Regions from separate parts of the Homo sapiens genome. Here all the other regions are linked to region 1. Evidence: promoter capture Hi-C in 16 types of primary human blood cells and fetal thymus (Javierre and others, 2016). All regions are on one chromosome and are shown on one strand. The core of a region is centred on a gene start or on the middle of the fragment in contact, and the rest is flanking DNA. Distances in the headings are between cores, read along the strand shown. Region 1 holds the start of CFAP69 (cilia and flagella associated protein 69). Region 2 overlaps SRI (sorcin). Region 3 holds the start of GATAD1 (GATA zinc finger domain containing 1).

Region 1 (3,853 bases), core at 445-2,944:
TATTTTGGCAATGGCTTTTAAAAAGTATTTTTCCCTAAAAAAAAAAAAAAATCCACGCTTGCTTGCCTTGTATAACGTTGCCCAATTTTTCTTGGAGCAAGTAAAGGAAGACTGAGAGCCATCAGTTATCAAATTCACATACTTTTCAGTTTTGCCCCTTGCCTGGGAGTATGGCTGTATTGTTGATCTTTCTTGCAGCCCAGGGAGTGGAGAGCTATTGTTCCTCAAAATTCTCCCCGCCCAGAGGGGAATAGGTCCACAAAATCGATTAGGCAAATTCCCCTAACACCTATTTCTCCTCATGCAAAATGCTGTTGCTCCGCAGGTTACTGCGTAAATGTCAGACCTCAGAGAGCTCAACTCTATTCCCCAGTCAACTGACCACTCCCAAGGAACTCTCCAAGGCTCCAGGATGTGAACGCAAGAGACAGGGTTCCTGACGCAGCCTGAGATTTGAGAAGCCTCAACAGGAATTCCCACAGTGGCCCCACACCATTAGTGTGAGGCAGGACAGGGTTCCTCCAGGAATTCGCGGCTTTTAAGGCACGATCAGGGCTCTCTGGGGGATCAATGGAATCCTAGTAGGAAACAAACAACTTGGGGTTTCTAAACACCTCCGCCTCGAATAGAGATCCAAGGGCCTCAAATGGAATTTCTCAACAGATCAACTTCCAAGAGTGAATTTTGTATTCATAACAAAAGCAAACCCAAAACCAAATACAGTACAAGCATAATAAAACAAATCAACTCTATTCTCTCCCGGTTCTCTCCGACCCAACGTGTAACAACCAGCTTCCAATTTCATATTTTAAAAATGCTTAATTTCTAATTTAACAGCGTTTTCCTCCCCTCTGGGTGCAGGCTTTAGTCGCAGCAAATTTAAGCATGGGAAAATTTACATCTATATCAAGAACATCACTCGGTAACAGGGATCTACGTATTAAAAAGTTCAGTTCAAACTGATCAGGTCATCAAATCAAGATTTTGCTAAGAATGATTCCTTTCCTCCCTGTAGCTCTATGACCACTTTTCGAAGAAGCGCGGCAAAACCCCGCCTACTCAGTTTGCTAGGACCCTCCAGGAGGACCACACAGCGCTGGTCCCCAGACAGGATGGTTGACAACAGCCAGCCCCTCGCAACCGGTGCAGTTCGCAGGGGGTGGGGGATCAGGATTAGCTCTGCGCTTGGAATCTCCATCCCGCGGCTTCCCCCATCTTCACTCCTGTCCCCAGTTCCACCCTTGCCACCCCCAGGTCTGGACCCCGTCTCGAGACTTCACTCCCACCCCCTCCACCTCTGAAAGCACAGACACCTGCTCATACCTGCGCCTCATCGTCCTCCGTCACCACCCCAACCACCGGGATTTGACTGGAACTGCTAGACTTGTTCCTGATGCCGGATTCCTGGGCCTCGGCGGTCGCCCCGGCTTCCTCTGTCCACATGGCCGGTGGCGGCGGGGTGGAGAGTGGGGGGATCTTCCTGTCCTACAGTGCGCCCGCAGCCGCTGGGCCCAAAGAGGCCCCGCCACCGAGAAGGGAAGGCAGCCTGAGAGTCGCTAGAGTCGCGAAAGGTCCCAAAATTCCGCCAGGGGCCTAGGCCACCGCCATACAGTCCGCTTAGCGCCGCTGCCGCCCCCCAGTTGACCCAGACCTCTGATCCCGGGCCGGTTGTTAACACAAGCCAGCGCGTTGCTAGGGGGCGGGGCCAGAGGCTACGGAAAGCCGGAGAGCCAAACCACCCCAAAGCCTAATTGCACTCCGCGCCCGGCAGGGCGAGTTTGCAGGCTTGCGGTAAGGAGCCTGCAGGATGCACCTCGGTAGGTAGCGGGGAGTGGTGCCTTAGGCTCCCGGTGTGTTTCGGTCTTCATAGTCTTGCTTCAAACAGGCATGAGTGGGTGGAGGGGTGAGGGATGTCTATGGGATACGTTAGGCGTGATACGATGGACGGATAGTGTTGAAAGCGTTTCTCTCACCCCAGGGAAGTGACCAGTCTCGCTTACATTCCCCAGCTTTTATCTGTACTTTAGTGGCCCAACTGGACAGTTAAATAAACAAACATAAAAGGTATTGTACAGAATGTTAAAAGGCTTTTGAGTCAGTTTATTGAATCTAGAGCGAGTTATCCCTTGAAGTCTCACTTTTCTCATCTGTAAAATAGGACTGTTGTGAGGATTGAATGAGATGACAGTGTTTGTTAAGTGGTGCTTGGCACAGCATCCCGTATGGTCAAGATTATCATTATCTTTATTACTGTTTGAGAACTAAAAATTAAATCCTAAGCCCCACAACCGACTGAACGGACCCCCTTTTGGCCAAGAGGACCCCCGATAAACCTTAAAAGCTGAATTCCTCGCCCTGACGGGACGGAAGGACGGACACGCCTCGCTATACCCCCCTACCTCCTCCCTTTTCACGTCCCCCTCACCCCTGGTTTTTTGAGACAGGGTCTCACTGTGTCCCCCAGGCTGGAGTGCAGTGGCAGGATCGTAGCTCTGCAACCTCCAACCTCTGGCTCAAACGATCCTCCCGCTTCAGCCTCGGGAATAGCTGGGAGTACAGGTGCACATGCCACCAAGCTCGGCTCCCCCTCCCTTTGAGGGCTTAGACTCAACAACTGACCAGCATTAATGTTAAAATGGAGATCAGAAGGCTAACAGAATGGACTCTGTGGCAATAACAAATTATAAGCAAGACCTAAGGCCATGCCAGGCAAGAGTTAAGTCACTCACACCTACACTTAAAGAATAACCTTTGTTTTAACTGCTGCAATGTTTTTATTTTTCTCTAGCTGTTAAATAAGAACTGCCCTCGACATAAGCAATATTGAAATAATTGCAGCTCATCCATGGCCAGATGTTGACTAACAAGACCCTCCTGTTCCACAAGTCATAACTGCAGGTTTGATTGGACAAGGGACCGATTCAGTAACTTTCCCCTGATAAAAGACCACCCACTATGGACTGGTTCTGGCAGGTTTACAGAGACTGAGCACTAGTACATTCATGTCTCTGCTTCTCCTTTTGATGTATAGGGACTGTAATGCATTTAAATGTTAAGTTTCCACTCCACAGTGAGCATGGGATGCATGTCACATGCATGTTTATTCAGCACCCCTCTTAGTGAAGATTCACAGCTCTTCTTACAATCTGTTGAATATGTCTGTTTAGCCAACTCATTCAGCATAAAGCTTCTGCTCCAACCCCACCTCCTTCAAAGTGCCTGTTGACTGTCTCTGTGGGAGCCTGGGCTTCCCAGCCTGCAGAATGGCCAGCCTGCAGGTTGTAACTCATTATAAGAAACAAAGTCTCCTTTCTAAATTTATAGATCTTATGATTTTTCAGTTGACATGTTGTTGCCTATCCATTGTAGACTGAATAATAATACAAGAAGGGTCAAGACTATAATGGAAAGCTTCTCATGATGATCATCAGTATAATTTAATAACTCAAACACCATAACTGAAAATTTAAAAAACTCTAACTCTTTTAATCTGTTTTTTAAACTTTCAAAAATTATTCAAGATTTAAACGTGCATTTTTGTATCTTCCATAGAATTTATGAATTTAAAATTACATATAAATTCAATGAAAATAAATATTACTTCACTTCTCAGAGCTTCTCTCCTCATTTCTAGAATGAGGTTGATAAGTGATTTTGAAGGTTCCTTCTGCCTCAGACGTTGAATATTTCTGGCCCTAAAAGAAAAATGGTAACACTAGATTAGGACTGGCAGCATTTGATTGTAAATCCTAGCCGAAGAGACCAAGTTTTGTTGAGAGTAGTGAGCATTTCTAGCACCTGTTTCCACACTTCTAGTCATTCTTCCGCTTTTCTCATCCTCAGCCCTCTGAAA
Region 2 (3,690 bases), core at 613-3,112, 2.0 Mb after region 1:
AAGAGATACAGTAGATGAAAAGGATGTACACCAGATGGGTATCCCTTTGAAATTAGCTGTTAAGAATATCTTAAGGTTAAGGATGCCAGAGACATAAGGGATTCAAAAGTTAGAAAGAGTTATCATCCAGAATTTATTAATTTCATTTATTAGTCTTAACTATAGTGAGACCATGATTTGATTTGCATTCAGAGACCTGGGTTCAAGACCCAGCTTGTTGTATTTATTAGCTGGGTCACTTAAGCAGGTTTCTTAATTGCTGTGACACTATATGAATAAAGAAGATATAGTAGTAATGCCTTTTTCACTGAGCCATTGTAAGATTTCTATTAGAAATGCCCTTGAAAAACACTATGCAGATATACTATCTGCTTTTGTCTTCTGTAAACAAATCATGTCAGTCACTGAGAATAGATAACAGCTCAATAGTTTTGCATACCTATGTTCTTCATTGAGGGCATAAGGCAGGCAACAACTTAAATCACAATTTTTTTTTTTTTTTTGAGATGGAGTCTCGCTCTGTTGCCCAGGTTGGAGTGCAGTGGCGCAATGTCAGCTCACTGCAACCTCCACGTCTCGGGTTCTAGCGATTCTCCTGCCTCAGCCTCCTGAGGGACTATAGGCATGTGCCACCATACCTGGTTAAGTTTTTTTGTATTTTTAGTAGAGACGGGGTTTCACTGTGTTAGCCAGGATGGTCTCGATCTCCTGTCCTTGTGATCTGTCCGCTTAGGCCTCCCAAAGTGCTGGGATTACAGGCGTGAGCCACTGCTCCCGGCTAAATCACAATTTAAAACAAGTTATTTACTAAACAGCCAAACTAAACAAGGGTAGGGTAAGGCCATGTAATCAGTGTGAACATAACCTAGTGCCATCTTTGATGGCATTAGCTGGATGTATATAACAAAGCTAGAGAGATTGGTTACTTGTTTCTTCAGTTTTTGCTCAGCCATTGATTTAAAAACAAAAAACAAACAAACAAAAAAACTTGTAGAATTGAAATGACTGTAATCACTGAATATTCCATTCTCCATTACAAAATATAAGATGCATGTATTTTTGGTTTAGCAGCTGCTGCAGTTATAAGTACACTTTTAAAAGCTTAGTATGTGTGTGTGAATATGCTTATTTTACCTGCTTAAGGGTGTGTTCTCTTTAACATGCGTTAACTTCTTAGTTGACAGTCCCCTTGCTGTTTCTAAAGATCAGAAGGCTGCCTGGGGAATGGAAAGAAAGACCATGGGCTTTGACTTCAGATGGGGCTACTTAAAAGATTTCTAAACATCCTGATCCTTATTTTCCTTTTCTCTAAAATAGGGATAATCACCTTGACCTTGCAATAGAGCTGCAAGGGTTAGCAGTGCACAATACCTTAGTAGTGTAGGGAACACTGATAGAGCAGAATCTATTGCTTTATGTTTAGCGGGGAAGCCAACATTTCACAGCAAATACTGGTATTTCTAATCTCAGGTATCTGAAGGGTTAGCTGTTCTGTTTCTGTGCATACATACACTTGCATGCTACAATTTGTTTTAATAAAGCAGATTTTAAGGCAATAAACTGTTTAAGGTGTTCCATTAGAGTAATGGGGTAATACTGTGTGGTTTGGAAATCCCCACGTAATACAACAGTATAAACTCCAGTTGTTTGTGTTTGTGGTAAGTGTCTTTGACCACGGCCATTTCTAGTCTTGGATATTATTTGGAATTTAAATAATTATTCAAATAATTATTTAAATTATTTATCCATTGAAGTTATATCTGCTTTCTCTAAGAAGTTTTGATGTGAGAAACCCTGTGGATTTTATATTAGACTGCTTCCCTAAAAAAAGGAAACTTTTCCATCTATCATTTACTCATATCTTAGAAAGTTGTAGGGGTTGTTTTACCCGTGTTCAAATTAGAAAACCAAATGTAAGCTGCCAGAAATAGGCTGTGCCGTATAAGTGCTTTGAGGTCTGTCATATAATGCTGATTTTTCTTTCAGTTCATTCAATGTGTCATGAGTGTTTAAATCAAGAGGAAGCTGCATGAATGTAATCAACATTCCAACTGGAGCTCTCCTTTGCTTGTCCTCTTTGCCTTCGGTAATATGTATAAACTTACATCACGACTTTCTCTTAACAGCTGTTGTAAAGTTTATTACTTTATGTACAACTGAAGTTTTGTTTTAGTTTTGATAATAAATTCTTTGGAACTTTAATAAGATCTAGTCTGTTACACCATTTAGAACTTTCCTGAGCCATTATCAGTCATGCCTTATTTTCTTGCTAAAACTCTATGTAAATTTAAGTATGCAAAATGTTTAAGTCACATTATTTATTTTTCATTGTGAGACACTAAAAACTGTTAATCAGACTACAGCTGTTATCTTTCCTCTCCTACAAAGAATACTCCACACATAAAAACTTAGGTAAATGACATAGACGCACTTGGGTGAAATAAAACAACAAAAAAGGTAATCCAGTAATCCACGTCAGGATTCACCTTAGAAGTTTAGCACACGCCCTTCAAAACCTGTTGAATAATTTGATTGGCAAATACTATCTGTCACCAAGTCCCTTTTTGTCATCTATTTAAACCTTTGTTAACTCTCCTTAAAAATCTTGTACATTATAAGCTTAACTATATAAAAAGAAAATTGATAGAAAAAGACTAAGGGAATATATGGAAATATTAACAATGTTTATTTTGGATGAATGGAATTCTAGATGACTTTAATTTTCTTTATATCAGTATTTTTCAGATTTTCTATATGCTTTCCTTTTAAAATCAGATTTTAGTTTTTAAAATACTGATACATCCATTTTGATATACCATGTATTCACACTTTAAAAAATACACATAGCAGAGTATCGGAAAGTATGTACCAAAACATTGATCTGGCTACCACTGGGAGTCAGGATCATGAGTTCATCTTCTTCCTTCTTACTGCTTTTCCAAACATTCTCCAGTAAGCAGGTACTACATTTATAATGGAAGGAATTTTTTAAAAAATTTTAAGCTGTACACTTTCAAGTAAGATCTGAATTCTAATGCTGGCTTGTGCCTCTTACTATGTGGTTTGGTCATTATAGATAATGCCCAGTTTCAGTTTCCCCATCTTTGAAAAGGAGATAATATGTTATCTCTTGGGAGTAGTTCTGAATATGAAGTGTGTTGATACAAGAAGCACTGACAATGTTTCTGTTTCTTAAATTTAAAACTGGCCTGGTTTGCCTTTTTTATCAAGAGAGCTTAACAGATAAAAAATGAAATTAGTCTATTTTCTACTTGCCAGCAGAGTATCTGTCTTATTTTAGGATGCAGTGTGAAACTTACCATTCAACTGAACAACTAGTTGTCAACTAATGAAAATAAAACATTTTCTCTAAGCATCTTTAGCCTCATTTCACTATTAATTTTTTAAAATATTGTTAAAATATATATTATTCAAACCTAACATATAACTATGGCAAGTTAGTTAGCCCAGGTTACATATCAGAATGTGAAGCAGCCTGCTATATATTACACAGTGACTATAGATTGCATCATCTCCGTATATTGTCTGTGAGGCCATAAAGCTCTGCTTGAGTCTGGGCTATCTAGAAAAGGGCCAAAAAGGGGCTCAGAGGATTAGGAGGCAGGGAGCTCACCTTCAGTGTCCTAGCACCTGCTGTTTGGTTTCAACTCACCAGGGTCCTCTGAGGAA
Region 3 (3,785 bases), core at 33-2,532, 2.2 Mb before region 1:
TTCCTGCTTACTCTGTTACACAAACAAATTAAAGAACAAAAAGAGAAAGAAGTAAAAAGTGCATAAAGGTTGCAGTACAATCATCTTACAAGGATCCCAGAGTATGTACTTTATAAGAGCATTTAACAATTAAGATTGCCCTTTTGCTTTTCAAGAGAAGTAATTACAGCAACTAGGCTAAGTAAAACCGGAAGTTCAGCACCCGGAATCTCGGAGCTCGCTGGACAGGCGTCTCCAGAGCCTCCAAAAGGTGTGAGCTGCTTGTAATAGGGCAGGAGGCGGGAGTAGGAGTCAGTCTTGACCAAGACAAACACTATTCATTTGTTGTGTCTACAATAGAGAAAAACACTTAACAACTTTACTCCCTAAGGCCAGAGAACGTAGTAGGTTATGGCGCCCCCTGCAACGGAATACTTAAGCTGCCATTTACAATAATGACATAATAATCTTACTTCATAACCTGATATGACAAAACCTTTAACAAGGAATGAGGTCCAGCGCCTGCATTTGTGGCATGACACTGTATACGACTGTGTAGACATGTGTATATTGAGATTTTCTTAAGGGCTTTACATCTTGGTTCTTATTGCTTTGAATTTCTTACAATAACAGGTGCTTCGGAATGGGCCAAACGAAAGATCTCAGTAGGAGGTGGGGAGGGGCGTTCCAGCCAGCAGGAGCACGGCGATCGGGGAAGCCCGCGCCCGCCCGCTCCCAGCCAGCCCGTCCCCGCCCGCCTAGCACCTGGTCGGCCTCCGCCGGCGGGAGGGGCCGGAGGAGCTCACCTGCTTGCCGCCCCCGCCCCCGTTGCTCTGCGGAGGGGTGGCGGAGGTGCTGGCGAAGGTCGCCGCGCCGAAGCCGCCGCCGCCGCTGCCCCCAGTCCCTCCAGCCGCCCCCGAGCCTGCGCCCCCGCTGCCCGCGCCGCCCCGGCCAGTGCAATGATGGCAGAGGATCTCCCCCTGCGCTCCCTTCTTCCACATGGAGGACGACGTGGTCTTGCATACGCTGCAGGTGGGCTTCAGGCCCAGCGGCATGGTGGCCGGCTCGGGCGGCCCCCGCGGGCGCAGAGACACGGGAATGGCGGACGGTAGCCCGGCCGCCCCCTGGTCGGCCCGCCACTCCCGGCGATAGGAAGAGCGGTGAGAGCGTCGGCACGGAGCTGCCGGTGAAAGGACCAGGCCGCTGGCGCTGCCCCGTGGAGGCGGGAAGCGGGTTCCGCCGGCTCCGCAGGCGGAGGCCAGGATTCCCTGGCCCGAGGCACTGGGAAGCAGGACTGGGAAAGGGATCTGGCCGGGGTGGGGGGGACGCGGAGACTTCCGGCGGTGAGCTGGCCCCAGGGCCCCGCAGCCCGACCGCCTGACCGGAAGTGCAGCACCCGGAATTACTGGGAGCTTGCTGCAGTTCCGCTTGCTGTCGCCTAGGGGCAGGGTTCTCAAACTTTTTGGTCTCAGGCCTAGAATTTGCCGGGTAAAATACAGGACGCCCAATTAAATGTGACTTTCAGGTAAACGACGAACAATTTTTTTAGCGTGAGTGTATCCCATGCAATAATGGTTTATCCGAGAGGCGTTTAACTGGGGGTCCTGTATTTTTATGTGCTAAATCTGGCAATCCAGGTCTGGCGTGGTGGCTCACGCCTGCAATCCCAGCACTTTGGGAGACCAAGGCCGGCGGATTACTTGAGCTCAGGAGTTCGAGATCAGCCTGGCCAACGTGGTGAAACCCCTTCTCTAATAAATATACAAAAATTAGCCGGGCTCAGTGGCGGGCTCTGGGGTAATCCCAGCTACCCTGGAGGCTGCGGCAGAAGAATCTCTTGAGCGCGGGAGGTGGAGGCTGCAGTGAGCCAAGATCGCGCCATTGCACTCCAGCCTGGGGGATAGAGTGAGACTCCGTCTCAAAAAAAAAAAAAAAATCTGGCAATCTTACTTAGGAACCCTTTACACTCTTAAAAATTATACTTTGGACATCGCCCTACACCTCCCCCATGTCTATACTTTTGTTTAGTTGAATTCAGAGCATGCCGTTTATGGACATCGACAAAGGGTTCAGAAAATGCCATCCACTGACATCTATGTATTAGAAATTGAAATTGAGACATTTTACAGCCTAAGATGTCAAGCGCACATTCTTCAGCCGTTGGATAATATCGTTGCAAATCCTGTGGACTCTGAAGAGTATACCGATTAGAGAATGCGGAGAAAATCGAATAGCTGGCTGTTATTCAATTCAAAACTGTTGGAAAACAGTTTTGGCTCTGAGGACCCAGCAGTTGACAAACAGCAGGCCTGGGACAAGAGCAGTATGAGAAGTCAGATCGCCTCTTTTAATGTCACTAGTCAGTACAGGCCTCGCCAGACAAGTCTCTCCTCAGCCTCACTTGGAAGAACATGCCCTCTCTTCATGATCCTGGGTTTCCTAGACTTAGTATCCTTGGAAAGGTCTTGATGAATATATTGTGGTGGGAAGCAGTGGGGAGAAACAAACGCCTATTATGTCACAAAACCACATTTAGTGCTTATAACAACCTTGGAATGAGATATTATCAGATTTTACTGTTAATTGGTGATCAACGGAGGCACTTCTATGTGGACTGGCTGTCATTATAGCTGCTGCCCTTGGCACCAATTTCGAGGAGGGCTTTGGAACAGCCCTCTGGGGTGTGGGTTGTGGCTCAGTCACCTCCCCTCTAAATCTCAGTTTCCTTAACAGTAAAAATAAGTTTCCAGGACTGTTATGGGGATTAGGGCCAACTGTAAAAGTGGCTGAGGAGACTAGGTAAAGAGTGTTGTCTCACTTTAGAACAATGCTGAAGGTGTTTAGAGCCTGCCATCCTAAAATATGCCACTTTGGCATACTGATTCTTCTGAGCCAGAGGCAATGGAGCAAAAACAGATGCAGGGAAGGCTGTCTGACCACCCTCTTTCTGTTTGAAGCGGAACATAAAAGTTCCCTTGTGAAAGGTGCCCTTTCTGTACCAGGAAGAGGAGAATATTATTGCCAGAGGCAGAGTTGCCACTGAGAAGAATCTACAAACAAAACCTTACAAAAATTTGTAACCCATATTTTCCATTAACTTTCTACATACGGTTCTTCGTCACTTTCCCACAATTTGCCAGCCTTAGCCCAAGCCCCTTTGTCTTGTCACATCCCTGCAATTTATTATTTTTTGTTTAAAAGGACATATAAGCTTTCGGGCCTAGTAACTTCTATGGGTCTTTATTTTTCTTACAAAGCCTCCTGTGCATGTACAAAAATATTAAAACTTTTATGCCTTTTCCAGTAAATCTGTCTTATGTTAGTGTAATTCCCATGCCCAGCTACAGAACCAAAGAGGTGAGAAGAGGCCAGGCGTAGTGGCTCATGCCTGTAATCCCAACACTTTGGGAGGCTGAGGCAGGTGGATCACCTGAGGTCAGGAGTTCAAGACCAGCCTGGCCAACATAGCGAAACCCCATCTCTACTAAAATTACAAAAAATTAGCTGTGTGTAGTGGCAGGCACCTGTAATCCCAGCTACTCGGGAGGCTGAGGCGGGAGAATTGCTTGAACCTGGGAGGCAGAGGTTGCAGCCTGGGCGACAGAGCGAGAGACTCCATCAAAAAAAAAAAAAAAAAAGGTGAGGAGGAAGTTTCTCCTCACCTACAGTGTGAGGAAATCTAGGCACTTGATTTCCATGCTCCTGAATGTCTCTCCATTTGGGAACATATACCTCTCCTTGCAACTCATCTGCAAGTGACTCCCTCTCATTCACTGAAAACTTTGGCCCATAACTCACCAGCTTCC

The links. The method cuts DNA at HindIII sites, captures the fragments that hold promoters and counts their contacts. A CHiCAGO score of 5 or more calls a contact.
Region 2: a fragment that was not itself captured here is called in contact with the fragment with the promoter of CFAP69 in region 1 in 1 of 17 cell types (naive CD8 T cells); the score reaches 5.5 in naive CD8 T cells.
Region 3: the fragment with the promoter of GATAD1 here is called in contact with the fragment with the promoter of CFAP69 in region 1 in 1 of 17 cell types (total CD4 T cells); the score reaches 5.2 in total CD4 T cells.

What each region holds. Positions count from the first base shown.
Region 1 is chr7:90,243,015-90,246,867 of GRCh38, reverse strand. CFAP69 (cilia and flagella associated protein 69) reads right to left here and starts at 1,694. Exons shown (of 23, transcript NM_001039706.3): 1 at 1,324-1,694. The coding sequence starts at 1,443. LOC107986819 (a long non-coding RNA gene) reads left to right here and starts at 1,737. Exons shown (of 2, transcript XR_007060423.1): 1 at 1,737-1,791; 2 at 2,789-3,853. It also overlaps a transcript of STEAP2 not described here. RefSeq lists an enhancer at 317-829. The HindIII fragment of the contact is 7,562 bases long and covers 1-3,189 here.
Region 2 is chr7:88,204,801-88,208,490 of GRCh38, reverse strand. SRI (sorcin) reads left to right here. Exons shown (of 8, transcript NM_003130.4): 8 at 1,987-3,376. The coding sequence ends at 2,013. Among named protein-coding and RNA genes, the nearest start is that of SRI-AS1, 10 kb to the left of the region's middle. The HindIII fragment of the contact is 1,518 bases long and covers 1,104-2,621 here.
Region 3 is chr7:92,444,979-92,448,763 of GRCh38, reverse strand. GATAD1 (GATA zinc finger domain containing 1) reads right to left here and starts at 1,282. Exons shown (of 5, transcript NM_021167.5): 1 at 786-1,282; 2 at 1-12. The coding sequence starts at 1,034. RefSeq lists an enhancer at 113-162 and a silencer at 593-1,362. The HindIII fragment of the contact is 4,596 bases long and covers 1-3,192 here.